Linked DNA regions of Homo sapiens: regions 1, 2, 3, 5, 6 and 7 are each linked to region 4. Evidence: promoter capture Hi-C in 16 types of primary human blood cells and fetal thymus (Javierre and others, 2016). All regions are on one chromosome and are shown on one strand. The core of a region is centred on a gene start or on the middle of the fragment in contact, and the rest is flanking DNA. Distances in the headings are between cores, read along the strand shown.

What was found. The method cuts DNA at HindIII sites, captures the fragments that hold promoters and counts their contacts. A CHiCAGO score of 5 or more calls a contact.
Region 1: a fragment that was not itself captured here is called in contact with the fragment with the promoter of SEMA3C in region 4 in 2 of 17 cell types (neutrophils and erythroblasts); the score reaches 7.1 in neutrophils.
Region 2: a fragment that was not itself captured here is called in contact with the fragment with the promoter of SEMA3C in region 4 in 1 of 17 cell types (neutrophils); the score reaches 7.0 in neutrophils.
Region 3: a contact is called between a fragment that was not itself captured here and the fragment with the promoter of SEMA3C in region 4, in 2 of 17 cell types (neutrophils and erythroblasts). The highest score is 7.8, in neutrophils.
Region 5: a contact is called between a fragment that was not itself captured here and the fragment with the promoter of SEMA3C in region 4, in 2 of 17 cell types (erythroblasts and neutrophils). The highest score is 6.0, in erythroblasts.
Region 6: a contact is called between the fragment with the promoter of GNAT3 here and the fragment with the promoter of SEMA3C in region 4, in 1 of 17 cell types (M0 macrophages). The highest score is 7.1, in M0 macrophages.
Region 7: a contact is called between a fragment that was not itself captured here and the fragment with the promoter of SEMA3C in region 4, in 1 of 17 cell types (endothelial precursors). The highest score is 5.3, in endothelial precursors.

The regions. Positions count from the first base shown.
Region 1 is chr7:81,394,415-81,397,114 of GRCh38, forward strand. No RefSeq gene overlaps it. Among named protein-coding and RNA genes, the nearest start is that of HGF, 370 kb to the right of the region's middle. The HindIII fragment of the contact is 1,803 bases long and covers 476-2,278 here.
Region 2 is chr7:81,313,265-81,315,964 of GRCh38, forward strand. No RefSeq gene overlaps it. Among named protein-coding and RNA genes, the nearest start is that of SEMA3C, 400 kb to the left of the region's middle. The HindIII fragment of the contact is 4,398 bases long and covers 1-2,700 here.
Region 3 is chr7:81,353,170-81,355,869 of GRCh38, forward strand. No RefSeq gene overlaps it. Among named protein-coding and RNA genes, the nearest start is that of HGF, 420 kb to the right of the region's middle. RefSeq lists an enhancer at 896-2,095. The HindIII fragment of the contact is 2,639 bases long and covers 1-2,598 here.
Region 4 is chr7:80,917,443-80,920,384 of GRCh38, forward strand. It overlaps SEMA3C (semaphorin 3C), which reads right to left and starts at 1,609. Exons shown (of 18, transcript NM_006379.5): 1 at 1,386-1,609. RefSeq lists an enhancer at 1,129-1,198 and a silencer at 1,746-1,875. The HindIII fragment of the contact is 5,149 bases long and covers 1,248-2,942 here.
Region 5 is chr7:81,375,849-81,378,818 of GRCh38, forward strand. No RefSeq gene overlaps it. Among named protein-coding and RNA genes, the nearest start is that of HGF, 390 kb to the right of the region's middle. The HindIII fragment of the contact is 157 bases long and covers 1,598-1,754 here.
Region 6 is chr7:80,510,767-80,513,466 of GRCh38, forward strand. GNAT3 (G protein subunit alpha transducin 3) reads right to left here and starts at 1,298. Exons shown (of 8, transcript NM_001102386.3): 1 at 1,043-1,298. The coding sequence starts at 1,160. It overlaps LOC107986812 (a long non-coding RNA gene), which reads left to right. Exons shown (of 3, transcript XR_001745252.2): 3 at 2,279-2,700. The HindIII fragment of the contact is 5,637 bases long and covers 1,093-2,700 here.
Region 7 is chr7:81,329,935-81,332,634 of GRCh38, forward strand. No RefSeq gene overlaps it. Among named protein-coding and RNA genes, the nearest start is that of SEMA3C, 410 kb to the left of the region's middle. The HindIII fragment of the contact is 2,345 bases long and covers 197-2,541 here.

The sequences.
Region 1 (2,700 bases), core at 127-2,626, 480 kb after region 4:
AGTTCTCAACCATTTTTTCTATTATTACCATGAGAAATTCATCTTCTAGAATGATCTGAACTCAGTACTCATTCACGTGTGCACATTTCAAGCACAGACTTCTGCATCTATGTTTGTAATCTTAGATGTACACACATACATATAAATATATACATAAATGATATAAAGTTTAATGAAATGAAATTTCCTTACATTTTTTATAAGTGATACACGAATATTTTCTATTCTATTCCATTCTTCTTATTTTTAAAGTTTAGTTTTTTAAGCTAAAGTGTTTTAAAGATCATTAAGCTAATTCCACAAATTGCTAGTGGCTTATAACCCACAATTAGTAAAATGGCTGTGCATATTCTGATAACATGTATGAGTAAATAAAGAAAGAAATGAATAATGGAAAAAAAGAGAGAGGGAGGAAATAAGGAGAGAAAGAAGAAGGAAGAGAAACATCTCTCTGAATACAAATATATGCTCTCTAAGCTTCTGAAAATAGAAAATATATGGAAGGGTACAAATCAACATTAACAATGATTACCTTAGTGAGGTGAGAGTGAGGATTGAAAAGGCATGAGTGTCTTTTATATTTGTGGTTTAAAATCCAATATTTGTATATGTGTGTATATACAAAAACATATATTATTTTTACATATATGCATACTATATATGTATATACACATATAGAGACAAATAAAAGTACAATATTTATGTTTATATGGAGAGAGAGAGACAGAGATATGGGGAAAGAGAGACAGAAAACTTCTAATTGTTAAATTTATTATGCTTCAATAGAATTTGAAAAACAACAACATACAATACAGGCTGTCACTTTTGCAAAGTTTAATAAACATCTTATGAAACCACATAACAGCAACCAACTTCCTGACAAAAATTAGGATGGAGGCTTTTCTTTCATGTTAAAGAGAAAGAATCCAAGAGTGAGAAAGGTGATCGTGGAGAGTTCTGGTGAATACGTATAATACATCTCACTAATGATAATATACACCAAGAGTGTGTGATTCGCTCAAGTCCACTTATTTAGTGTCAGAAAAGTATCTACAAACAGATTTACTAATTCTCATTCTAATGTTTTCGTTTTTTTTTAACTTCGTCACTGAAGAATGACTAAGATTTATCTGAATTATATAATAGGTTGTTCCCTAAAGCATTTTTGTTGATTTTTTTTTGAATTATGACCCACTATTACTTATAAGGTCATGCCGAATATAGTGGGATGTAAATTGAAAGCATCGAAGTTCGGCACAGTGGCTGGGGACTAATCCCAGAGACTAGAGAGGCTTAGCCAGGAGGATTGCTTGAGCCCAGGAGGTTGAGGCTGCCGTGAGCTATGATCATGTCTCTGTACTGCATCCTGGGTGACAAAGAGAGGTTTCATCTCTAAAAGACAAAACAACAACAACAAGAAGACCACCAAGAATACTTTAAAATTGACCTATGTATCAGAAGTGACCAAATTCGTACTAAAAATTTCCAAATCCACATGAATAAATTTACAATAACTCAGTAAACTCAGCCACTTATTTATATAGTCATTGTAGAATCATTTATTTCAAAATATTTTTAATTCTTGAATTGAATGCTTGCTTATATGGATGTAAATCTTCCAATACAGAATGATTAAGTCAATATTAAAAATATTTCTATGTGAAGATATTTTAATGTATATTCCTTAGTTGTTTGCCAATGTGTTGCTATTTTTGAAAGTGTCTAGCTCAGTTACATAAGCAATAAGTGAGTGAGTGAGAGAAAGTAGGTGAATGTGAATTAACTTGACAACACTCCTTTTATTCTTTCTTTCTAGAAATAAGTTATAAAACCACTAAGGTAGGAAGAAATTTTGACCAGTGCAGACAGCTTCTTATTTTAGTGTTTTGTAATTCCTCTAACCTAATTTGTCTTTTATTCTCTCTAAAGGCAGAGTTCTAAGATGAACTTTCCTTCTTGTTTGAACTACATATGTTTACATGAATTACCTGATCGTATTATCTTGGAATCAGAAAAAAAACCTTTATCTCACTTTACCTTTATCTTTATCTCACTTTTAAGTTGTGTTGCATTTTGTAACCACTTTATGCAGTGTCAGTCAAATATTAAGTTCTCCACAAATATTTGTTAAATTAATGAATTAGTGATGATTACTTGGTTTCTTAAATGGACTGTGGATAGGCAGATGAGTAATTAGTAGCCCCTAGCTGAATCTATTTCCAGAGGACTTTCTAGAAGTTACATTAGTACAGAACTTAATTTATTTTCTAAGAAGCAAAGCTTTTGTGGCTCTTTCAATTATGCAATTTTAAGGTATGAAATGTTCTATTATTCTGGAAGAATCAGGTAATAAGATAAATTTTAATGTTATTGGATTTTGTTTTTAGCAAGGCAAACACCTGGGCCTTAAAGTATGTATGCGCATATAGTCTTGATACCTATTTCCCACATCCACCGGTTTGGAACATTTTTTAAGAATACTAGAAAAGTAGTGAGAAATTCTTATGGAGGCTAAGAGTTCTGCAGCAAAAAAGAGGCTGAGGATCTCCTCCTTTCCCCTTTAAATTTCTAATTCATTACTTAATTTCTATTGTAAGGGATTGGTCCCAGCTGATCACACTGGAAGGAAAGTAAGATCCCAGGAGAACCTCAGTTTAAGGGAAGGAGTTAAAACCCTTGCCTGGGCTTTCAAGATTAGAG
Region 2 (2,700 bases), core at 45-2,544, 400 kb after region 4:
GTATGTTAATTAGCCTGATTGTGGTAATCAATTCACCATATATATATACCAAAACATGTTGTGTAACTTTATTGCCTACAATTTTATTTGCCAATTGTACCTGAATAAAGCTGGAAAAGTAATGAGATAAAAGAAAAGATATACACTGAAACTATCCGGAAAGGTAGATTACACTTAAGTACTCAAAAATGTTAGCTGTTATTATTATTTTTCTTTACAAATACATTGCTCATGTCCATAATTTATTTTAAGATAAAGTGCATCTGTATATCACTGTTATCATAGCTGTCTATGTTATCAAGCAAGATTTATGATTAGTGAATTTCAGAATCTGCCCAAACGCTATGTTATTTTGTTTCAAAATAAATGTTCTATAACTTACTCATTGAGAGAAAAATTTATTTGAAAAATGTAAAGTATAGAAGAACAAAAAATAGGATGCTATCTTTCTATTATAAAAACAGAAAATAAGATTATACATGTATATATGTGTTTATTTTTTGTATGCATGCATAAACACACACACATATGCATACGCACTCAAGAAGGAAAAGACTAAACAATGATACGTGATAATGGGGATGAGAACAAGACTCATAGAATATTATATTTTTCAACATAATTTTGACATTAGAACTATGTACATTTTACACATTTGAAATATAAAAGTTATAAAAAGAAAAAAATGCAGTTAATAAGTAACATAACCATGCAAGAGAATACATTATTATTTGAGGTAACTTTACAACATTGTGCTAACATGACTGTATCTGAAGCCAAATATTCTATAGTGAGATATACTCTATTACTTGAAATAACAGTTATTGTATGTTAGAGATACACCCAATAATTAGATACCTAAATCTCTTACTTGTGTCAAAATATTATGTTTTAAAATATTATGATGTTTACTTGTGTCAAAATATTATGATGTTTTAATCTTTTACTTGTGTCAAAATATGATGATGTTTTAAAACTTTTACTTGTGTCAAAATATTATGATGTTTTCATATTATGATGTTTTGTGCTAACATGACTGTACCTGAAGGCAAATATTCTATAGTGAGATATACTCTATTACTTGAAATAACAGTTATTGTAGGTTAGGGATATGCTCAATAATTAGATACCTAAATATTTTACTTGTGTCAAAATATTATGTTTTTAAGTTGGAGATTAGCCCCTACGATTTCTTAATAATAAAATGACATGTAAATGGCTCAAACTTTCCTAACACTTGATTTTCTTCACTTTATGGAAAAAGATATTGATTATAAATATCTTATTTATTGATATAAATTGATATAAATTAAGTCATATGTTAAAACCACGTTAAATGTTACTACAAAATATGACGCAAAGTATTTTTCTGGTACTGAATGCGATCAAAATAACAAAAGGGGCATTGAATTCCATTTGCACTCTTTCCCATGTTGGAACTTAGTTTTACTCTTTTGATTAAAATATTTGTTGGCTTTGAATTTAAAATGACACTGAATATAGTTTCAGTGAGATTTTTTTCCTAATTTCTTGATCAACTTATTTCCCTAAATCCATAGTTGTCTTGTGGAGATCGTAAACACCTGCAGCCATTTCCAAGAACTATACTTTTGAGTTAAGGCCTCCAAACTAGAAAATATATGGATTTCTGATCAAACTGTCATTCTAAGTTTGTACATTTTTGGCCACTCTTGCTTCAAATATAAGCAATAATAGGTAAAATACCTAAGGGAAAAATCAGAATGACATAGTTTTCTTTTACAAAACAAAAAAAAAAAAATCAAAGTACCATGAACAAACAAGGAAAACTACAGAATACAAAGTACATGAGTGTATATAACATAATTATCACATATATGTTAGATAATAGCAATGTTACATGTAATGGACAATAAGATATACTGAAATGGTAATTCATAAAGCCGTTCTAGTCCAGTTTTATTATAACTTAATGTGTCCTTTTGGTGAAAGGGATTTTTACTAGACCGTCTGTCCAAGTCTTAAACTAGAGAGCATTGTCTGTGTTTTTTTTTTTCTTTTTTCTTTTTTTCTTTTTTTTTATTATTATTATACTTTTAAGTTTTAGGGTACATGTGCACATTGTGCAGGTTAGTTACGTATGTATACATGTGCCATGCTGGTGCGCTGCACCCACTAACTTGTCATCTAGCATTAGGTGTATCTCCCAATGCTGTCCCTCCCCCCTCCCCCCACCCCACAACAGTCCCCAGAGTGTGATATTCCCCTTCTCAATTTTTGAGACAAATTTCTCAATTTCTTATTCACTTTCAATAAATTGTATAGTAATAAATTACTTTTGATTTATTAGGAAATTATTGAGAATATAATATTGCTTAGGATCAGGAAGAAATAATTCAGAGAGAAAGAGTTTATACCTGTGAATGACAATAGAGATGGTTGGAACTTTGATTTCATAATTTCAAAACATCTTATAAAATCTATAAAATATAGGAATGGAGATACTTTTTTTCTCTTGGTTAAAAAAAAAATTCAGTTTTTAAAGTAACAAATTCCACAACAAAAATTTTAGGAATTACAACGTAATTAAAAAAATAGAAAAAAGTTTTCATATTTTCTTTCAGTCTTTTAAAACTATTTTATATAGTTGTGACTAAATGCCGTATGTTTGTGTTTGTACAGATGTAAATGTCCTAACATTTCCTTCATTTTCTATTTCAT
Region 3 (2,700 bases), core at 29-2,528, 440 kb after region 4:
TTTTTGTTTAAAGAGTCTAAAGATAGGACCCCAATCCCTTCTAGCTTGCAGAGTTTCTGCTGAGAAATCTGTTGTTAATCTGATAGGTTTTTCTTTACAGGTTACCTGATGCATTTGCCTCACAGCTGTTAAGATCCTTTCCTTCATCTTGACTTTAGGTAAGCTGATGACTATGTGGCTAGACAATGGTCTTTTCGGGATGAATTTCCCAGATGTTCTTCGGGCTTCTTGTATTTGGATGTCTAGATCACTAGCAAGATCAGGGAAGTTTTCCTTAATTATTCCCTCAAATATGATTTCCAAACTTTTGGATTTCTCTTCCTTTTTGGGAACACCAATTATTCTTAAATTTGGACGTTTAACATAGTCCCAATTTCCTGGAGGTTTTCTTTTTAAATTATTTTTTCTTTGTCTTTGATGGATTGAGTTAATTTGAAAGCCTTGTCTTTGAGTTCTGAGGTTCTTCCTTCTGCTTTTTCGATTCTATTGCTGAGACTTTTCAGTGCATTTTGCATTTCTCTAAGTGTGTCCTTGATTTCCAGAAATTGTGATTGTTTTTATTTATGCTATCTATTTGACTGAAGAATTTTCCTTTAATATCCTGTATCATGTTTTTGACTTCAAGTTGGACTTCACCTTTCTCTTGTGCCTCTTTGATTAGCTTAATAATCAACCTTCTGAATTCTCTTTCTGACTGTTCAGAGATTTTTGTCTTGGTTTGGATCCATTGCTGGTGAGCTGGTATGATCTTTTGGGGCTGCTAAAGAACCTTGTTTTGTCATACTACCAGAATTGTTTTCCTGTTTCCTTCTCATTTGAGTAGACGATGTCAGAGAGAAGATCTGGAATACAAGGGCTGCTGTTCACATTATTTTGTCCCACAGGGTGCTCCCTTGATATGGTGCTCTCCCCCTTCTCCTAGGAATGGTGCTTCCCAAGAGACAAACTGTAGTTATTGTTTCTGCTCTTCTAGGTCTAACCACCCAGCAGAGTAGCGGACTCCAAGCTGAAACTGGAGAATGTCTGCAATGAGTCTTTTGATATGATCCATCTTCAGGTCTTGCAACTGTGGATACCAGCACCTGCTGCAGTGGAGTCAGCAAGGGAGTGAAGTGGACTCTTTGAGAGTCCTTGGTTGTATTCTTGTTTAGTGTGCTGGTTTTGTGTTGGTTGGCCTCTAGCCAGGAAGTGGAACTTTCAATAGCTCATCAGCTGTGGTCCTATATGCAGGATGCACAGTTGCCCTAGGGACACCTAGTTAAGTATTCAGATTTGTCAGGCAATGGGCAGGGCCATAGGGCACCCAAGAGATTATGACCTTTGTCTTCAGCTACCAGGGTGAGTTGAGAAAGACCCCAGGTGAACGCAGGGATAGGTGTGTCTGAGCTCAGCCTTTTCTTGGGCAGGGCTTGCTGCTGCTGCTGTGGGTGTGGTTCCCAAATTCAAGGGAGTTATATTCCCAGGAATATTGTGTCTCCCTCTGCTGAGTCATATAGGTCACCAGGGAAGTGGGGGAAAGCCAGCAGTCACAAACCTAACCCCACTCCCACACAACCTACAGTCCTAAAGGCCATGCCCACTCCCATGGTGCCCCAACAACAGTACCTTGTCATCCAGTGAACAGGGCTGAGAACTTGTCCCAGACCATGAGCCTCCCCATTGAGAAAGCAAGCAGACTCACACTTTTTCAGCATCTCAGGGAGCCTGCAGTAGCGATGCAGCTCCTTCAAAACGTTGTGGATTCTCGCGGCTTTCCTGGTATGTTCCTGCAGTAGTTCTTGGAGAAAAAATTCACAATGTGAGTCTTTGCACGCTGCTCTGTTCATCGGAGCGGAAGCTACAAGCTAGTTCTGCCTCGATTTTCCAGGACTTCTTATCTGTCTTCTGTTCTCACATACTCTGCACCACACATAGGTGACTGAATCTATTCTCAAGGCTCTAGGACTGCCATTGTTTTTCTGTTCCTGGTCATTACACCCATTTCAGACCACACTATTTACTTGGTTCTATTCTGGATCTTTTTTTGACTTTTCAAGACTCCAAAAATCCTGCCTAGAGACACTCACCCATTCTAGACTATAGATGCAAATCTCTGCATGGAAAAAGAACACAACTGCAAGAAATAGAAGGAAAAATTTATTTTGCTATCATCACAACTAAGTGTTTATTATTAAACCAATATTTAAATTTAAGTCAACTCCATAAACATTTTTTAAATATTTTCTTTATGCTAGGCATAACGGTAGAAATAAAAATATACATTATCACTGCTCAAAGAGTATGCAGTTTAAAATGAAGATTTGCAAGTAGAATACTGAATTGCTATTTAGGCTTATGCATGTGGAAAAAAAAAAAAAGAAAAAGAAAGCAATATCTAAGGTATCCAGGTGTAGCACCAGAGAAGCACCAATCTACTCTATCTGCAGATAGAATTCAGTTCAAAGTGGAATTGACTCATTATGCCTCGAATTTTTTCATGCATTTCTAATAATTTTATTTAAACATTAAAAAAATTTAAGTAGAGAAAAAAAATATAGTTCTTAGAAATGTCCTCTAAATTTGTCTTACAGGTCGTTGACAAACCACTAGGAAAACTGAAGCTTAATCATTACCTTGATAGAATGTTCATCCTTATAATTTTGCTCTAGATCATGAGAAATACACTTACTGAAACACATTTCTAATTTTTTTAAATGCCAA
Region 4 (2,942 bases), core at 359-2,858:
AGTGCCAAATTCAAACCAATGACCTAGTGGTGAGCAATCCAGTGAGCCATGTATCCACCAATGCATATTTTAAATAAATCAACCAGAATGTGGGCTGTCAAAATTCCCAAAGATAAATCAAAGAGACAGGTGTCACTGCTTCAAACTATAGATATAAAATTGGTACATGCTATTAACTAATATCTGAATCCCAAGGAAGACCAGATAATGTGTTACCATAAACCTACAGGAGCTCTAGTGGCTACATCATGTAAAATAAACTCAGGACCATTAAAGAAACACAATCATTTTGCTTCTACCATAATTACACAATAAAGTGACCCAAGAGTCCAGTAAAGAAATTTATTTTTACAGGTTACAACAATGCTGATCTTCATTATTTGGCTTTTCAAATTAAAATTTCATAGTCAAAATTATTAAATTCTTTGTAAGAACCACTAACAACTGAAAAAGACAGCTTCATTAATACAGAATAAAAAGAATTAAATGGAATATGCAATTTTAAACAAAAATTGTAAGTAGATTTCCTAGGTGGTGCATATGTTATGAGAGTTAGAAATGAAATTGTACGCTTCTTTTACCACACAGATGGAGGAAACTCTAGAGATGTTTGTGTTGGTAATTTTCAAAAGAAACAGTTTCTTCCTGCTTCCACAACCTCTTCACCCTGTCATCCCTAAATTAACTTAGAAAGAAACTGATTTTATGGGTGACTTTCCCTCAGTAATTTACCCCTTGGTTCTGTTGACTTCATAGTTAAAGCCAAAAGAAAAAAACTATTAATATGCCTAACCTTTGTTATGTTTACTGAGCAAGTTGATATTATTTACACATTTTTTTTACATATTGGTATCTTACCTTATATGTTTCTCCCAAAAGTACATATACAACCAATTGCAAAGAATACTGGTGATACAATGGCAGGTGAAACGAAGATAGTCTACAGGGCAATTTGATTTACATCCCACCTAGTGATGAGGAGTGAAAGACTGAAAGCCAAGTGTCTTAAATACACCCCCGCCTCCCCAACAGTATCTTACAACTTCTTCCCTTTAACTCAGACACAGACGTTCCTCTTGGTGTTTTCACTTCTGCTGATCGCAAACTAACAACACATTAAGAAAAGAATTCTCTTATCTCCTCTGGAGCAATTTTGCCTTTGAAGGCACTGTAATACTCAACTTGAAACTCTCCGCAGGTGTCACCGCCTAAAGAAACAACTCGAGCAGGGCTCTCAGCAAGGGGAAAGCTTCCCTGACAAACCGCGTGTGTTCTTAAGAAAATGTCCAGGCTTGAGCATACCAATGTATGAAAAATCAATATACAGGCCAAAAAAGTTATACTTTGCTAAATCTGTAATGCGGAAAATGACCAATTTAGCTTACCGAGGTTGAAAGAAATCAGCACGGAAAAGTCATCAGTTTGCTACCGGGGTTGGATGCGCTTGTGTCTCCAGTCCTTTTCCCAGACGACCTTATTTTCTAGCACGTCGCAAAGGTGAAATTCTTTCTTCCCGGTCCTCTGAGTTTCTTTGTAAAGGAATCTCAGCGCTGCAGTGCCGCGGCACCCGGAGCTCTTCTCCGCGTCGCTCAATCAAGCACCTCGGAGTGAATGGAAAGTGGCCGGAGGCCGGGGGCGAGCGCTCTTGGTGTCCGATTACAGCGCCGCGGCGCGCGGCTCCGGCTGCCCCGGCGCGCCGCCCTGCAGGCTCGCATCACCACCGCGCAGCCCCGGCCGCATCTCCGCCAGCCGCGAGGCCCCACCCCGAGCGCGCCCGCGAGAGCCTGGCAGGGAGCCGCGGGGGCGGACCGGGCGGGGCCGACCCTTAGAGCTCGCGGCTGGCCAGACGCAAGAATGCGCGGCCGCAGGCTGGAGCCCTAGCTCCGCAACCCTGCTCCTTTCGCAGTCCGCGGCGGAGTGAGCAACTTGCTGGGTGCGCTCCACGGTTTTTGTTGCCGGCGGCTCTCGAAGACTTACACAGGCTTTGCCTGGCCGTAAATATCAAAGTGCAAAGCAGTTGTGGTTTTTTATTTTTGCCAGGGAAGGATCACTGCAGCCTTTTAAGGCAAAGAGATGCGTTTTTAAAAGGACGTGAGTTTTGTCCTTATTCTGCTGCGTTTTTTTTTTGTTTTTTGTTTTTTGTTTTTTGTTTTGTTTTTGGAGAGGGAATCTCACTCTGTCGCCAGGCTGGAGTGCAGTGCAGTGGTGTGATCATGGCTCACTGCAACCTCCGCCTCCCGGGTTCAAGCGATTCTCCTGCCTCAGCCTCCTGAATAGCTGGGACTACAGGCTCCCACCACCACGCCCAGCTAATTTTTGTATTTTTAGTAGAGACAGGGCCAGGATGGTCTGGATCTCTTGACCTAATGGTCCGCCCGCCTCAGCCGCCCAAAGTGCCGAGAGCCACCGCGCCGGGCCTCTGTTGCGTGTTTTCTAAAACAGGTCAAGATAAACGACAATCTTGTTGCACAAGTGTATCCTTTTAATGGGTATTGTTTCCTATTGAGTTTCCTTAATGCCCTGAAAGCAGTAATTCTGTTGACCCCTCCACGTTGACTCATATCCAGTACGTTGTCCCCAACCATACTCCCAAACATAATTACACGAAGAAATTATTTGACAATTCTATGTGGAGAGGCTGTTCTGAGTTATGCCAACAGATTGCCATAACCACACATCTACAGAAATACATCAGAGGTATTTTTCCAGCATTACTTTCAGGTACACTCGTTAAACTCTGGAACTGACTTTGATGTTTAAGTGAAAATTACTTCTCCGGACCACAATAAACTAGATGTTTAAACATCGGGAGAAATGAGCTTTGATCCCCATAAAACAAGCAGGCACTTGCTTAAAATCACTGTGGGGCACAGCCCAGCAGATGTCACTCTACAGAAGGAACGTGGAGTGTAATATCTCCACCTTATACCTGACAATTCACA
Region 5 (2,970 bases), core at 426-2,925, 460 kb after region 4:
AGGGTTTAAATCATAAAAGGATGCTGGATTTTGTCAAATGCTTTTTCTGTGTCTGTTGAGATAATCATGTGATTTTTGTTTTTAATTCTGTTTATGTGGTGTATCACATTTACTGACTTGCATATGTTAAACCATCCCTGCATCCCTGATATGAAACCCACATGATCATGGTGGATTATCTTTTTGATATGCTGTTGCATTCAGTTAGCTAGTATTTTGTTGAGGATTTTTGCATCTATGTTCATCGGGAATATCGGTCTGTAGTTTTCTTTTTTTGCTATGTCCTTTCCTAGTTTAGGTATTAGGATAATATTGGCTTCACAGAATGATTTAGGGAGTATTCTCTCTTTTTCTAACTTTTGGAATAGTGTCAGTAGGATTATTGTCATTCTTTGAATGTCTGATAGTATATAGCTGTGAATCCCTCTGGTCCTGGACATTTTTGTTGTTGTTGGTAACTTTTAATTGCCATTTCAATCTCATGGCTTGTTATTGGTCTGTTCAGAAATTCTATTTCTCCCAGGTTTAATCTAGGAAGGTTGTATATTTCCAGGAACTTATCCATATCTTCAAGGTTTTCTAGTTTATGCATGTAAAGGTGTTCATAGTAGCCTTGAATGACCTTTGTATTTCTGTGGTATCAGTTGTAATATCTCCTGTTTTATTTCTAACTGAGCTTATTTGAATCTTCTCTCTTCTTTACTTGGTTAATCTTATTAATGGACTATCAATTTTATTTATCTTTTCAAAGAACCAGTTTTTTGTTTTATTTATCTTTTGTATTTTTTGTTTCTTTGTTTGTTTCAATTTCATTTAGTTCTGCTGTGCTCTTGGTCATTTCTTTTCTTCTGCTGGGTTTGGGTTTGGTTTGTTCTTGTTTCTCTAGCTCCTCGAGATGTGACCTTAGATGGTCTATTTGTGCTTTTTCCAGACTTTCTGATGGAGACATTTAATGCTACAAATTTTCCTGTTAGCACTGCCTTTACTGTATCCAAGAGGTTTTCATAGATTGCGTCACTATTGTCATTCAGTTTAAATAATTTCAATTTTCCATCTTGATATCATTCTTGACCCAGTGATCATTCAGGAGCAGGCTATTAATTTCCACGTATTTGCATGGTTTTGAGGGTTCCTTTTGGAGTTGATTTCCAATTTTATTCCACTGTGATCTGAGAGAGTACTTGATGAATTTTCAATTTTCTTAAATTTACTGAGACTTGTTTTGTGGTCTGTCATATGTTCTATCTTGGAGAATGTTCCATGTGCTGATGAATAGAATGTATATTCTACAGTTGTTGCGTAGACTGTTCGGTAAATATCTGTTAAGTCCATTTGCTGTAGGGTATAATGTAAGTCCATTGTTTCTTTGTAGACTTTCTGTCTTGACCTGTCTAGTGCTGTCAGTGGAGATATAGAGCTCCAAAATTGTACATTAAGTTCCCCTTAAGTATTCTGCTTGAGAGTAGATTATATATTTACAGGAGGAGACTTTACAAAGCCTTGTGAAGAGCAACTACTGGGAAGAACTTATTTTAAGAAGTTCGTTATTAACTGAAACAAACAACATGTATAGAACTGTAAGCTGAACAACTACCTAAGCTTGGAAAAGGCCGGTAATGTTGAATAATGACTTTCCAAAGTGGAGAGACCTCACTGGAAACCCAGATCATTAAGTACTTGTCTCCGAAAGTCCATACCTTAAGAGTAGGGCTAATCTGTCCTAGATTAAAAGCTACTACGAACCACCATAATCAAGCTTGAAAAACAAGCTTCAAAGAGAGTAAGCTGATTTACAAGTAAATTCACTGACTTTCAGAAAAAAACCCAGTGTTCTATTAAGACAATAAAACTCAAATATTGAACGATGCAGTACATATAACTATATTCAACCATACACAATAAAAAATAGACATGCATAAAAGTAGGAAAATGTAATATATAACAGGAGAAAAAATCGATCAATAAAAATAGAGGCAGATACAATAGATGATGGAATATTAAATAATAATTTTAAAGATACCAATATACTGAAGCATCTCAATGATTACATTGCATATAAATTCATTAGAACTTTCAACTCTTAGACTGGATAATAAACAAACAGAACACAATTATGTGATGTTTTCAAGAAATTCGTTTTAAAAATGAAAAGGTGAAACAACAAATGTCATGTACATGCTGACCATAAGAAAGCTGGAATAGCATAGCAATATCAAAGTAGACTCTTTACAAGGAATACTTCTAGAAACAGATGTTTTATACTAATGATAAGAGAGTAAACTTATCAATAATACCTAACACTCCTAAATATATATGTCATGTAATAGGAGTTTCAAAACATATAAAGAAAAAGCTGACAGAACTACAAAGGAAAATAGAGAAATCTACAACTGTCATTGGAGAGTGGAATACTATTTTCTTAGTAATGAATGGAGAAACTAAACACAAAATTAGTAAGGAAATGAAAGACTTATATAATATTATAGGACTATTTGAACTTGTAGAAATCAACAGGACACTGCATCCCTAAACAGGAAAATATTCATTCTTTCATGTGTACATTGAAGATTCCCTAAGACAGACCATGTGCTGGGCCATAGCAAAAATATCAAAACAAATTAAATATTTTGAGATCATCCAGATCATCACATTTTGAGTATAGCCTCTGAACATAATGGGATTCATTTAGAAATCATTGACAAAAAGGATATTTGGAATATCTACAAATATTTGGAAATTAGGCAACAGAATTTCAAATAACATAAGGGTCAAACAAAATTAGGTAGGAAATATTTTAAAATATTTTAAATGTAAATGAGAATACTATATACCAAATGTGTAGGCTGTATTTAAAACTATGCACAGTGAGTATAAATAGCACTAAATGCCAGGAAAAATAATTTCAAATTGGATGAAAGGAAGGTGATAGTAAAGACATGAGCAAAAGTCAATACATTAGAAAACAGAAAA
Region 6 (2,700 bases), core at 48-2,547, 410 kb before region 4:
ACTCTTGCCACTGGGAGCAAATTAGACACAACGAAGGAATACTTAAATAAGTTTAAGTATTTAATTCATTTAATATTAAGTATTTAAGTGTTTAAATACTTAAAATATGAGGAAATTTGTTATGTGAAATATGCACGATTCTGAAATAAGATGAAGTCCTTTTGTGTATAACCAAAATCAGGGAGAAAGTACAACTCATAATTGAATCAGAAGTAAGTGCTTGCTTTGTATTCTTTATATAGGTCATCATTTTTATTTCAAAAACATATTTCTGTTTCAGTGAAACTGCATGTAAAATGTTTTATGCTTTATAGAAAAAATCTGCATATGGATTATTTTTATTCTTTCAATTAATTGAACATTTATTGAATTTATAGTCAAGGTAAAACAGTGCTGAGTTTTGAAAGAAGGAAAAAAAAATAAAAGAGACATAAATCCTGACCTGAATGAATATATAAATGCTCTAAAAGGATTTAGGTAGAGTATTTTTCAAGTGTACAGGCAATATTGCAGGCAGTATTCAGGAGCCTAAGTAATATTGTTAATATAATTTAAAGTACCTTATCATTGTTCTCTAACTTGACTAATTGATTTTTAACTATACAAGTAAATAACAAACATTAACTTCAACGTCAAACAATTCAACCTATTTCTGTTTAAACAAAATAATATAACTCTTTATAACTTGTAGCTAAAGGATTTCTTTCAGTATTAAAAAGCTGACATTCAGAAAATGATTAGGGTGCAATAAAATAATAAATGTATCTGATTTTTATTTTAATAATAGTAAACCATATTACTGACAGAGAAATTAGCTGATAAATATTTGCCTCCTTGCTTAACAAAAAGGTAATAAAATACTAAACAGAAAAATTATTAAATATTGATAGAGTACAAATAAATTTTCCTTAAGTTTCCAAACACATTTTTATAATAAATTTCCCATATGATAATACACTCGAAATTAAAGTCTGAGAAAAGTAAATATATCACAATTGAAAAAAAAGTCAGGTTTTTGAAAGCAAAAGGGAAAAGAAATTACCTAATAGTAGCAGCTTTACGGTTCTTGCATCTCGCTCAGCATCCTCCTGAAGCTTTTTCTCCAGTTCTTTTGATCTTTTGGCTGACTCCTTGCTCTCTGAACTAATTCCACTTCCCATCTTGTGGTGGTAGATACTTGTCAGTTTATATGTTCAGATTTTTCAAATGTTGAGCACAGCTGTGGTTTGGACATAGGAGGCAAGAGTAATGCTCTGCTGAAGTACCTAGCAGTCCATTCCCTAATGCTCTAAGATTCTGCTTTGACTAAGGAGATGCTTTCTCATCTGTCACCTGATCAGGTGGTAAAACCATACCCCCCTGATGGAGGCTAGAGAGGAAGTTCATTATGCTTTCAAATTAAATGACTGCTTCGGGCACATCTTCGAAAACAGGCTTATCTGCTTTATAGTATAAAATAATGTAGAAAGTTGTCAAAATCTATACACTAGAGATGATCTACAATAAGCAATTCAAATAGAATGTTTCTCACTACTGGGCAATTTTTATTACTGTGATTAAAAGTTATTATTACTAATCAGCGATGCTTACATCTTATCTTCAGATATTTGGCCCTTCAATTTCTTTATAATCACTCCTATATCACAATCAGAATATATACATGTAAGTTATCCAACTTTTATGGTCTACCTATGCTTAGATTATTACTTAAAGCTATTGAGCATCTATTAGCATCTGTCAGGGAACAAAAAAAATCTTTTTTTTAACAATGGATACAAATACATATAGTTTTTATATTTGTACATATTGTATTGCTACAAATATAAAATTCAACACAGTTTTCTTAAATTATTGATTTTAGTGTCATAGGATCCATCTCTATAAATTGAGCTTTTGCCGCCTGTGAGAAAGTCAATCCATCAACACTAATTGAGGGCCCACTTGGTGTAGACACTGAACTATGTTCAATTTAGGCAGCGCATTAACTCTTTAGGGCCATTAAGCAACAGCTGCTGTGCTGGAGGGACTCTTACTGATTTGGTACCAAGGGAATAAAAACCAATGTTCTTTGAAACAGCAGGTAATTTGGTTTTTCCTACAAACTAAAAACAGTAATTACACCTAAATAAGTTCCATAGCTTTCAACTACCCCAACAGATACCATGTACTTCTTGAAAATCTTCAGGATTGAGGGCAGAGATTATGTTGCACAATTTTTTATTTATATGAAGCATAAAGTGCTTGGTAGATAGTCAATCAATATTTTCCTTATGAACAGAGTCGGTTGCCTGTGGCACATCTTTCAGTGTGCATTTTGGGATTTGTGAATGTGCTTAACCAGAAAATGCCAGAATACAGTCAATCCACCAACCTGTCAGTGGTGCTCTTCTTGTGGGATCATGTGCAAAGTTTGAACAGGTGAGTTTTTACATATTCATGCAACAAGAAAATAGGCTGCCAGATTAAATACATAGTCCTGCTTTGTTTACTTTTTCCACATCAAAAATATTAGGCTGAAGATACATAAACATAGTCAAAACTTCCTGGGTTCCGTTCTTCCAAAGCCATATTATGATAGTATAAAGATGTGCAGTGGTGGATAGGCAAGGATTTGTGCAAATCATGTGGTATTGCTTTTACAATGCAAAGGGCCTGTCCCAAAGGAAGGAGATTTGCACGGCCTAATGCTCACCTGTGAAC
Region 7 (2,700 bases), core at 119-2,618, 410 kb after region 4:
TGAAATGTAATTTCCACCATCACAAATAGTGGCCTAGATTTTATGATCAAGGGAATACATGGCATGCATAAGTAGAATGCTACTATGCATCCTGGAATCCACTGTATTTCATTATACTTATATTCTGTCTTACTGGCAGTCTTGGGCAAGCCTAAGTACACCTTTATTAACAAGTCAATAACATAGCTCTGTGTTAAGCTTTTGTATTGATCTAATATGGTTCACCCTGGTATGCCAAACAGGTCCACATTTCAAAACAACCTCTTTCTTAACTGTCTCTGATCTTGGGAGTCTCATGTGTAAAGTAATAGAAACATTTCTGGTTTTAGCAATGTAAAGGTCACACCTGCCACAATGAGGAAGCAGTATCTTGTTTTATGCGTATGAGAGCCAGAAGCAGGAAGGCATGGCCAGCATCATGACTAACCCATTGCTTTGTTTGGTAGAGCCACCTTTTTCCTTCTGGATCCCTTGCATCTTGGGTGCTTTTTTTATATGTACTGCATGTCCTTCTTGTGTTCAATTTTGCTGCTAGCTAATTCCTGACAATGGCTTAAACTATAATTGAGGAGGTAGCTGATGGAAATTAGATGATGAAATGAAAATGGGTAAAACAAATAACACTCACGTATTTTACATAGCAACAGTTAAATAAATTAAGTCAACTACTCAAAAAATATAAGGAAATTATGAAATGCATAGCTAGTTGCATTTATAGTTCTAAAAAAGAGAAATTCTCTCCGAGTTTCTACTAGCTCCGAAGTAAACTGAATCGATCTTACTCCATATAGTGAGTCCTATGGGTCTCTCCAGCTTCATATTAGATAATGGCAGCCCTGCTTTCCTATTAAAATGGAAGAATCTGATGTGACATTTATGCTTGTTTATTAACTAACTGCTGTAACAGAAACTCACTCATATAAAAGTGTTTATCAAATAAACTTTATTAGCTTTTAGCATAGTTGAGAATAAAAACCATGGCATTTGAGACAGTATTAGGTAACTGATTAAGGAACCTCATGAGAGATTATATTAGAAGGGAAAGTGGACTGGTTAGTTTTGTGGGGGAGAGAGTGGCCTGAAGTTGGTGGTATAATCCACTGACCATACAATAAGCCTAGACAACTGCCCCTGAATATAAATCCAATTTTTAAAATGTGATGTAGTACCCAAGAATAAGCCATAGCCTATCTTTCAAGTGATTTATTTATTTATTTGAAAAATCTGGCTGTTTTGGTTGGTTTTTCAAGGATAGAAAGACATGTATATCACTTTCTCCAGATTTGGAGTACCTCCCTTTCTGATTACATGTTTGCTTCGTAATCCTTTCCTCAAGAATGTCTGCTATTCTACTCTTAAAAACTTCCTGAATATTAACCCAAACCTCTCCTTTCTATGTTTTTTCAAAAAATTGCTAGAAGAGTTGTAATATTTGTATTATTATTTTACTACCCTAGCATTTCATAAATTGTGTTTATGGTTCAACATTTCTTATCTCTATCTTTTTTGCTATTTCAATCTCTAGTTACAAAGTTTGGAGGCATTCTCTTTTTTTAAGTAGAGATATTATAATATCAGCAAAATATTATCATTTCCATGGTGAGTCACAATGCCTCTAGGAATTCAGCAATTATAGTAAGTGGGTGAAGGAGGCCAGATGCTGATTGTGGTGATTTCAGAGCACCTTATCTAAAGAAGCAAAGCTCCAGATAATTTACAATCACACAGAAATGCTCAACCAGTACTGTTGCATCTGCAGGGATAGAAACAGAACCAATAGGATCTACCTCTCTATCTATCATCTGGCCAGCTTCCTGTCTATCTATCTGTCTGTCTATCTATCTATCTATCTATCTATCTATCTATCTATCTATCTATCATCTGTCAATCATCAAAGGGAAAGAGAGATATTTATTGCAAGGAATTGACTTACATAATTATGGGGATCTGCTTCTGTAAATTTGAGATCCAGAGGGTAGTCTGTCAAAGGGGCAGGCTGGAACTCTCCTGGAGAAGCTAATGCTTCAGTCTTGAGACAGAATTTCCTCTTGCTCAGGAATACCTCAGTTCTGCTCTTAAATTATTTCAACTGATTGAGCCAGTTTCTCCCAGATTATTGGGAATATTCTCCCTTACTTAAAGTTAAATGATTGTTGATCCTAATAAAATTTACCAAATATTTTCATAGCAACACCTAGATTAGTGTTTGATTAATAGGCTAAACATTTCAAAACAATATTTAAAAATCAGATGATTTGACATTTTAAAGTCAGGATTTTCAGTTTTTCTTGGAAAAACAGATTTGGCAACTGTGATGGTCAATTTTATGTTTCAGTTTCAAACAAAAGAAAACAAATTATTTTCCATTCAAATATGATGACTAACTGTCTTGGTTTGCCCAGGACTGAAATTGTCCTGGGTGAAACGAAATGGTTGATCTCCCTACATTCAAACAAAACATATCTCTTTTTAGACTGTGCCCATGAAGTTAAGGCCATCCTGAATTCCCATGAGATAAAGAGGTGCCTGTGGAACTAAATAAGCTTGAACAGAGATTATCGGTCTTATGCATATGTTGCATAAGACTTACTTTAGCATATGTTGGGGACAAAACATTTTTTCATCAATAACATTCCTGCTAGAATAATGGTATTGGTTAAGGTGGGCAGGGGATGAGGGTTTTGGGAGTGAAAGATTCCT